Regions from separate parts of the Homo sapiens genome. Here regions 1 and 3 are each linked to region 2. Evidence: promoter capture Hi-C in 16 types of primary human blood cells and fetal thymus (Javierre and others, 2016). All regions are on one chromosome and are shown on one strand. Each heading gives the region's core, a stretch centred on a gene start or on the middle of the fragment in contact. The rest is flanking DNA. Distances are from core to core; before and after follow the strand shown. Region 1 overlaps LOC107986858 (a long non-coding RNA gene). Region 2 holds the start of GIMAP6 (GTPase, IMAP family member 6). Region 3 overlaps REPIN1-AS1 (REPIN1 antisense RNA 1).

Region 1 (3,149 bases), core at 287-2,786, 290 kb before region 2:
AGGACAAGGTAGGACTTGAGCTGAGCAAAGCGGGAAACTCATCCTGACTTTGGTGGGGGCTGGGGGGAAAGTTGCATCAGGTCTGTTGCAGGGGAGGTGAGGCAGTTGAGGTGGGGAGGTAGGTTGGGAGCAGGGTGGTGGGAGTTGGTGAGGAAGGAGCCAGTCTGGCTATACTTAAATGGCCACACAAAATTCACTTTGGGTGTAGGTATGTGAGGTGCACCCCAAAGAGGTGGACAGTCCTACTGCAGAGCACTCATAGGTGTGGATGTGTGAAAGGACTACTTAGGGCATATTCATGAGCTCAGCTCCAGGTAACATGTCCCAGTCCAGGGGAGCAACAACAGGACTTCACTATTTAATGATGGTTAATGATCTTCCTGGTCATGACAGCTAAAAAAGTAGACTCACGTATCCAGTTGTTCCAAGCTTAGTTTTCCAATAACTGAACTGAGTACCAAAAAACATTGTCCTTTAATATTTGCAACCACATTGACAAAAATAGTTTTTTTTAGAAGAAGTGATTTGACTTTGAAGTAAGAGCATATCAGTTGCAAAACTACACCTATTGAAGTTAAGTACATTTTCCAACTTGTGTCAATTCGGTACCATTAGCATAAATTCAAAAATGATATTGCATAAATTCAAAAGCCATTCTAAATTTATCAATATCAACTAAGAATTCTTCACATTTTTCTTGAAATTTTGCCAATTTACACAATGCTGTATATTACAATTAAAACCTCTGTATGTTGATTCTTGTGACAAAAGTATGTAGATTGTAATTATTTGTCAGTATTATGAAAATATTTAATTTGAAATGCTTATATTTATCTGGCTAGGTCACAAATGAGGTTTCATCTCCTTGGATATTCAAATTTAGCCCATTTATATGTAGTGTGGTATTGGTGAGAAAACACTGACTTTTTTATTTTTAATTATTGAATATTTGGGTTGAGAGTAGTGACTCATGCCTGTAATCCTAGCACTTTGGGAGTCCAAGGTGGGTGGATCACTGAACCCAGGAGTTCAAGACCAGCCTGGGCAATATAGAGAGAGGCTATCTTTACAAAAAAAAAAAAGTTTAATTAGCTGAGTGTGGTGGCAAAAGTCTGTAGTCCTGGCTACTCAGGAGGCTGGCGGGGGACGATCACTTGAGCCTGGGAAGTCAAGGTTGCAGTGAGCTATGATCATGCCACTACATGACCCTCCCACCTCAGCCTCCCAAAGTGTTGGGATTATAGGCTCAAGCCACCACTCTCAGACTTGGCCACAGAGCAAAACCTTGTCCCCAAAACAAATAATAATAATACTTATTGTTGTATATTTGGTAATCATGGCTTCTGTCTCAAGAAAATCTTGGAGTTAGTTAAAAGTACAGTAAATCTTAGGAGAACTCTTCTACAACCCTGACAATGAGCTTTGGTAAAGAAAAGATCATTAAATTCATTATCTTTCATTGCTTTCAACAGTTCCATAAAACCAGCAGTGATTCATAGCATTTCCACTTAAATACGGAATTAGTTTTAATGGCTGTAGCCATGAGACTTGCATAGAATAAATTTCAGAAAACTGAGCACAAATATCTTCAATATGTACCCTAAAGTGAAATGAAGCAACATTGGAAGCATCAATCTCTTGTTTTAGCATTCCAATAAATACCTCAGTCACACCAGCCACATGGCAAGTGTTCCTAAACCTGTGGCTGGTGGCTACCATATTGGATATTGCAGGCAGAGCATGTGTTACCAATTATGTGAGTAAAAACTAAAACTAAAAATGAACAAATTTTTGTGTTTGTAAATGCATGGAATATTTCTAGAAGGGAAAAACAAGAAACTTATAACAGTGTTTGCCTGTGAGGAGAGGATCTGTCCAGCTGGGGAAAACAGAGGCAGGAAAACTGTACTCCCTTTGTACTTTTAAATTTTTATAACTTGTGGATAATTTGTCTATTAAAATATAAAAAAACTTTAAAAACTATTTTTTGAGACAGGGTCTTGCTCTGTCGTTCAAGCTGGAGAGCAGTGGCTCAATCATGGCTCACTGCAGCCTCAACCTCCTGTGCTCAAGCGATCCTCCCACCTCAGCCTCCCAAGTAGCTTGGACCACAGGTGCATGCCATCATCCTAGGCTAATTTTTGTATTTTTTTCTAGAGACAGGATTTTGTCACATTGCCCAGGCTGATCTCAAACTTCTAGGTTCAGCAATCCACCCACCTTGGACTCTCAAAGTGCTGAAATTACAGGCTTGAGCCACTGTGCTTGGCCTTAATACTTTTAAAATCAGAAAGCAAAGCAACAGCTTTTCTTTTGTCTTCTTTTCTTTTCTCTTTTTTTGAGACAAAGTCTTATTCTGTTGCCCAGGCTGGAGTGCAATGGCATAATCAGAGCTCACTGCAGCCTCCATGTTCTAGGCTCTATTGATCTTCCTGCCTCAGCCTCCCAGTAGCTAGAACTACAGGACCACCTCACCCAGCTAGTTTTTATTATTATTATTTTTTTTTTCAGGAGAGAGGAGGTTTTGTTTTGTTGCCCAGGCTGGTCTTGAACTTCTGAGCTCAAGTGATCCTCCTACCTTACCTTTCCAAACTGCTGAGATTACAGGTGTGAGCCACCGCGCCTGGTCCCAATAGCATTTCTGAAAGCTTACTCTGGCTGCTGTGTGGAGAGTGGATAAAAGGGAATAAATCTCAGCAGGAGATAATTGTGATTGTCCGGGTGAGAGACGAATGTGGCAGGGACAAAACTGGAGGCAGTGAAGATGGGAAAACAAAGTCCAGAAATACCTCAGGACTAAAGCACCAGGGTTTGGTGATTGATAAGATGTTGGGGTCGAGGTCAACAGAGAGGGGTGAATCCCAGGTTTCTGGCTTGAACAGCTGTAGACATGGTTTTGATCCTCAGGGAGAGAGAGACTCAGGAGGGCAGTGAGGAGAGAAGTGTGAGGTGTCTGTGGAACATGCCAGTGGAGATGTTGACTGAACAGGGCTGGTGGAGCTCTGGCTACAGATGGGAAACTGTGTTATCTGCATGCAGATCGAGATCAGAGCAGAGATGAGACTGGGGATTGGAGAAGGAAGTAGCTTGCCCTGGCGGTAGGAGGGTGAGGAGGGAAGAGGTTAGGACCTCACTGGGAGGGGATCCAA
Region 2 (2,996 bases), core at 58-2,557:
ATTCACAACCAGATGAAACAGATCCAGATGAAGGGTCTGGGGTGTGGGGAAACCTAAGTCCAGGGGAACCTGATAGACATGTTTTTCTCATTGCCACATTGTTAGATGTTTGTTCTATTCTGTTCACCTGGCAAACACTCCAGTCCTCCCCAGATCCCAGAAGTATATATGCGGATATTGCTTTATGATTGGTAAAGATCAATTTTGCAGTGCTGGGCTGGGCATGGAGGGAGTCCAGGAAGGTCTGTTGACTTTCTAGGAAGAAAGAAGAAGCAGGCCAGGCGGACAGCCTTACTCAGACCTGAACAGCCAGATTCTGGAAGGAGTACAATATTTCACCTACCAAAGGGAGTTAGTTCTTCCTAACTGGTGGCCTCTCAATCTCTTTGTCCCTGGCTTCCTTACATCCCTGGTGGAAATTGAGGCAGCACTTTACCAATGTAATCTCATTCCTCCTTTAGAGAGAACGGGCAGGCAGCTTAACAGGAAACAACAGCCGGGTGGGACTAGGCTGTGGCATGCAGGAACCTGCACTGTGCCTTCGCAGGGTTCGGGGAATGGGTCTGCACGCAAGGCACCTCCCTGCCTCCTCCTAGACCCTCCCCGGAATGGCACCTCCCATGTTGGCCACAGTGTGCATTGTCTCCAACACAGAAGATGGAACAGATAGTACCATCCTTGTCATATTGCTCTGGAAGAAAGCAAAACTCAGAGAAGCATCTTGCCAAATATTAAACAGTGACTTTGTCACAAGGCAAAAAGTTCTCCAGACGTGTTGGTCACAGCTCTTTTTATCACATTACAAACCTGCACACACCACAGCACACACAAATACACAACACACACACATACACAAAACACATGTACCACTCACACACATGCAGGTGAACACACAAACACATACACAAACACAAATATACATACACAACACACACACAACACTCACATACACACACAACACAAACATCACACACACAAACATCACTCACACACATTCATGTTAACACATACAAACATGTAAACACACATGTACAACACAAACACCCACACATACACATCCAAATATGACACGCACAAATACTCAGACTTACCTCTGCACCAGCTCACAGGCAAGAGAAAGGACCACGTTTCTGGTCTCCCGGCCACGCACTCTCACGGAGGAGGCAGAGAAAAGCTTCCACAGTGTATGAACACAAGGAGGACAAGGCCGATGTTTGCTTATATTTTCAGCAAAATGTTTTCAGAGAGCTGGGCTGGAGACCTGCCCTTGAAAGAGCAGTGTCCGCTGGAGATGGAGGAACAGGAAGTGGGTAGGAGCACCGGCCTTCCTGAGTCAGAAGAGTCTGCTGTTGCACTTTGCAGCCTCGGAAGTAGAAAAAGGGAGGATACCAGTGGTGGGATTATTTTTATCCTGAGCCAGGATAACTAGAACTCAGAGCTTAAAAAGAGGCAGATGCCTCAGAAAGATTTGTGTCAGGAGGAGTGACTTTCCCTGATCTCTCTTTTCTGAACCCCACCTCTTCCCCAGGGAACTTCTATGCCTCAGTATTGGGGCAAACAGTCATTGTCTCCTTTCTTCCCCAACCTCTCCTTCCTTTAATAGTTTCTCTCAGGACAAGGTCTGACACTCATTACCTCTAAGGCATGAATCATTGGTAATTACAATTGTTACAGCTTCTAGAAGATCTGCACTATAAGAAAAGGGAAAATACAAAAGAATGTCTAAAATGTAGGATTAAAGAGAGCACTTGTTATGGGGGAAGAACAATATTTTAAACACAGGCCAAGGGAGAAAACACCTCAGCATCCTCAAAAACATGTTTTCTAGGACTTTACTGACAGATCTGATAACTGTGGCTAAAGGGAAGCCATTGAAGGAAGAAATTCAGAACATAGGAGCATAGGTGATGATATTGTTACCACATGATTTTAAAATGTTAAGATTCCCTAAAAAAATTCCACTCAATCTACTATAATAGTTCTAATTTTCTTTGGTTCTGTTCTGGTTGATAATCATGGTGTATTTATTAAAATTGTTACATAGTATGTGTGTGTGTACATATATATATCTTTTAATGTTCTACTTAAATTATTCTGTAAATACCCTGACACAATTAATTTTTTTTTTTTGAGACAGAATGTCATCCTGTCACCCAGGCTGGAGTGCAGTGGTGTGATCTCAGTTCACTGCAACCTCATCCTCCCAGGTTCAAGCGATTCTCATGCCTCAGCCTCCCAAATAGCTGGAATTACAGGCGTCCGCACACCCGGCTAATATTTTGTATTTTTAATACAGACGGGGTTTTACCATGTTGGCCAGGTTGGTCTCAAACTCCTGACCTCAAGTTATCTGCCCACCTCGGCCTCCCAGAGTGTTGGGATTATGGGCGTGAGCCACCGCGCCTGGTGTAACATGATTAATTCTTTTTTTTTTTTTTTTCTCGAGACGGAGTCTCGCTCTGTCGCCCAGGTTGGAGTGCAGTGGTGCGGTCTTGGCTCACTGCAAGTTCCACCTCCTGGGTTCACGCCATTCTCCTGCCTCAGCCTCCTGAGTAGCTGGGACTCCAGGTGCCCACCACCACGCCCAGCTAATTTTTTGTATTTTTAGTAGAGATGGGGTTTCACTGTGTTAGCCAGGATGGTCTCGATCACCTGACCTCATGATCTGCCCACCTCGGCCTCCCAAAGTTCTGGGATTACAGGTGTGAGCCACCACGCCCAGCCACTTAATTAATTCTTAAAAGTCATGTGTTGATCTTTACCATTCCATTGCCTAAGTGTTTAGAAAGTATTTAGAATGTTATTACTCCACCCATAATTGAAATTAACCATCTATTTTGAATTTTAATCATTTCCATCTTCTGCAAGCTGACTCTGGAGAGTTGCCCAGACCTGCAGTTGACTGAGCCAGGGATCAATCAGCTCAGCGTTTAGCCATGAGAATTGGGAAGTGTTTGTTACTGCAAGGTAATCTGGCCTAATCTAATTGATACAGC
Region 3 (3,018 bases), core at 80-2,579, 270 kb before region 2:
AGAAAAGGGGGTGTTGGTGAGGAGCATCTCTGCCTTTTTTCACCAGGGAGAAAGAAAACTTATTTTTATTCTTTTTGATTTGTATTTGCTTTTACAATTCTCCTGGCTATCTGGGTAATTACATGTGTCTTTGTGTTGGCGGGGGTACAGGGGGAGATTCAGCTGCAGCACAGGCCGGCAAAGTGACAAGTGTAGCAAGATGCTGCGCTGAGGGCTTGGGAGACAGAGGGAGGGGCCTCGAGCCCAAGAATGCCTGGGAAGCAGCTCTTCCAGCCAGAAAAGGCAAGGAAGGATTCTCCCCTAGAGACTTTGGAGGGAGTGGGGCCCTGCCGACACCTTGACTTTGGCCCAGTGAAACATTCTGGGCTTCTGACTTCCAGCCGTGTAAGATAATAAATGCCAGTTATTTCAGGCCGAGCTGGTGGTCATTTGTTAGAGCAGTCCTAGGAATCTCATCTAGGTGTGAAGCTATTTTAGAGGGGTTTGTTGGGAAGCGTGTTTTGAGGCGAGGAGACTTCAGCCAAAATCTGAATACAGTGAAGAACGGAAGTCCATGCGGACCTGGAGGAGGATCGTCTAGGCAACTCCAAAGGCCCTAAGGTGGAAATGAGTGGCGGCTGCTGGGGCAGTGTCTGGCAGGCGCATGGAGGTCTGCAGGAACCCTGCAGGCCATGGCCGCGGGTTGGATGTCAGTCCAAATGTTAGCAGGAGGCGTCGGAGTTCCCTAGCAAGGGAGCTGCTTGATCTGATTCATGTTTAAAGGGCCAAGCTGGTTAAGTGGAGACAGGACTTTATGGGGCCAGAGCGGAGGCAGGAGGAGTGGCTGGCCACTGCTGCAGAGTCCTGGTGAGGGAGACTATGGTGCAGGGGTGGGGGATAAGGGTGGGAAGCAGGCCTCACCGTTATGGGGCACACGCATGTACCAGTTTCCTCTGCAGGAAATCTGAGCCATCTACCTGATACTCATTTTACCAGCTGGATTCTTTTTTCTTTTAGCAAGAGACTCTGGGAACTAGATATGCGGCAGGAAAGCATCTTGTGTGGTGGAATTTGGGGACTGACATTTGATCTCAGCCCAGGGCTACTCTTACAGCGTGCGTCCCTGTCGTGCATTATACATGTTTTCATGCACTTAAAGATATTTTTAGAACTGCAGAAGTAGAAGCACTTTGATCTTTTCCTGAATAATTTTCACATGACTTAGCAGGCCTCCTTCCACCTGAGATGGGAAACCTTGGAAAGTGAGGGGGCCTTCTTCAGTGTGTGCCACTGTAGGGGTTTTTCCTCAGCCCCCCTAGATTTGTGGTTGGAACGGACTCCTGTTACAAAAGACAGATTAACAAGAGAAAAACCAGTGGAAGTTTATTAACATGTGTATTTCACATCTGCCTGGGAGACACGCAGGAATTGAGTAGTTCTCAAAGTGGTAGCTTTGAATTCCAGCTTGTATAGCATCTTCAACAAAGAAAAGCCAAGTTTTAGGGAAGCGACAGGACAAAGGAAAAGAACTTTGAGTGTCTAAGGGGAGAACTTGTAGAAAGGTAAGTAACTGGCAGATAAATAGAGTTAGTAAAGCGCCTTCATGTCCATTCCTCTGGTTCCAGCTCCAGGCCCATAAGAGTCTAAAGTTGTCTTCAGTGGTTAACTTTTCCCTGGTCGAGAGAGGGAGCAGACCCCTTTTATCCTTCTAAATCTATATCCTGCATTTAGGCAGTGGAGGGCAGAGAGCTTTCTTCCATTTACTTTTTCACTGCCTTCAAGCTCAACAACCCTTCATCTTTCGGGGCCTCCCCAACTGCGTTCTCTTGGTGCTCTCCAGCTGGGAAGGCTCAAAGGATGGGAAGTGTGTACAGCACGTACCTGTGACTGCTACCAGAGATTTGCCCCTCCTCAGGGTCAGTGAGGGATGTGCTTTCTGCTTCCTCCCCAGACTGCAAACCCCTGGAAATTAGCTGCGTGAGAGTCTTGCATATTTGCCGTAGGGATGCGGCAGGAGGTAACGGAGATGATAGTCAAGGGAAGGTTCATTAGAGCAAATTGATCCTCAGTCTCCTCCAGCTTTCCACAGTCATCCATCCAGAAATTATCAACAAGCGCTTGTTTTTATTTTGTAGTAGGTACCAAACCAAGAGTTATTTCCGTAGTTAAATAAGCGTTAAAAGTCTTCTCAGCACCCTCTCACATTGTGGGAAAACTGCACAGACCACCTCTGCCTGACTCATGATGAGGCCGGGCACCTGGCACAGTGGCAGATGGTGGGCACTGATTAAATATTTGTTGGATGTATGAGCAAGTCCTGTGGGGGGAGCTGGAACTGTATGTCTGCAAGAAGTGGGTGCAGTTTTCCCTCTTCCAGATACAGGGCCACTTCTGAACAATACTTGGGTGTCTTCACAGAGGATTTCTGGAGACACTGTTCCTGTCACCCCCTGGCATGCCAGCCCACTTTGCATCTAATCTGATAATGGGAGCCAGGCACTGTTGGAGGGGAAAATTGATCCTCCCAGGGGCCCTATCAATATTCGCTGTCCAGTGGGCCCCTTCCTGTCCAGCCCTTTCTCCGGCTAGCTTGTCAAAAGCTGAGACCGTCTCCACTGGGCTAGGCCATTGGGCCATTTGGCTGGTTGCTGGGCCATCCTCCAAGACATTTTGAAGGGTGAAGTCTCAAATACCAAGGCCTTAAGCTTCCAGCTGGCATAAAGGCTCAGGAATCCCTTCGCAACTCCTTTGCCACTCATTTTCTTTCTGCAGAGTGAAGGCACAGTCATACTTAGTTTCCTCTGGCGATGCTAAAGAGGAAGTTACAGCAGGTGGTTAACTCCTGACTGGGAGAAGAGACATTTCCTCTAATGGAGGCTGGGGAGAGAGAAAGAAGGTTAGGGCCTTGTTTAATGAAGAACCTTTCTGCTATGAAAGACGGATTACAGACAAGGAGAAGATACTTTGTGAGTCTATGAAGGAATTCTGCTTCGCAGGCTCTTGCAGGAACGTAGGGATCAAGTGGAATTTTAGGAATGG

Evidence for each region. Contacts are between HindIII fragments. The CHiCAGO score rates a contact against its expected background, and 5 or more counts as called.
Region 1: a fragment that was not itself captured here is called in contact with the fragment with the promoter of GIMAP6 in region 2 in 1 of 17 cell types (neutrophils); the score reaches 7.4 in neutrophils.
Region 3: a contact is called between a fragment that was not itself captured here and the fragment with the promoter of GIMAP6 in region 2, in 2 of 17 cell types (activated CD4 T cells and non-activated CD4 T cells). The highest score is 6.6, in activated CD4 T cells.

Annotation. Positions count from the first base shown.
Region 1 is chr7:150,343,634-150,346,782 of GRCh38, forward strand. It overlaps LOC107986858 (a long non-coding RNA gene), which reads left to right. Exons shown (of 3, transcript XR_001745420.3): 2 at 1-8. Among named protein-coding and RNA genes, the nearest start is that of RARRES2, 3.6 kb to the left of the region's middle. The HindIII fragment of the contact is 2,219 bases long and covers 428-2,646 here.
Region 2 is chr7:150,631,078-150,634,073 of GRCh38, forward strand. It overlaps GIMAP6 (GTPase, IMAP family member 6), which reads right to left and starts at 1,308. Exons shown (of 3, transcript NM_024711.6): 1 at 1,092-1,308. RefSeq lists enhancers at 719-798, 1,069-1,158, 1,169-1,258. The HindIII fragment of the contact is 8,992 bases long and covers 1,173-2,996 here.
Region 3 is chr7:150,361,322-150,364,339 of GRCh38, forward strand. REPIN1-AS1 (REPIN1 antisense RNA 1) reads right to left here. Exons shown (of 4, transcript NR_183429.1): 4 at 1,337-2,856. Among named protein-coding and RNA genes, the nearest start is that of REPIN1, 6.0 kb to the right of the region's middle. RefSeq lists a silencer at 2,810-2,859. The HindIII fragment of the contact is 2,705 bases long and covers 1-2,682 here.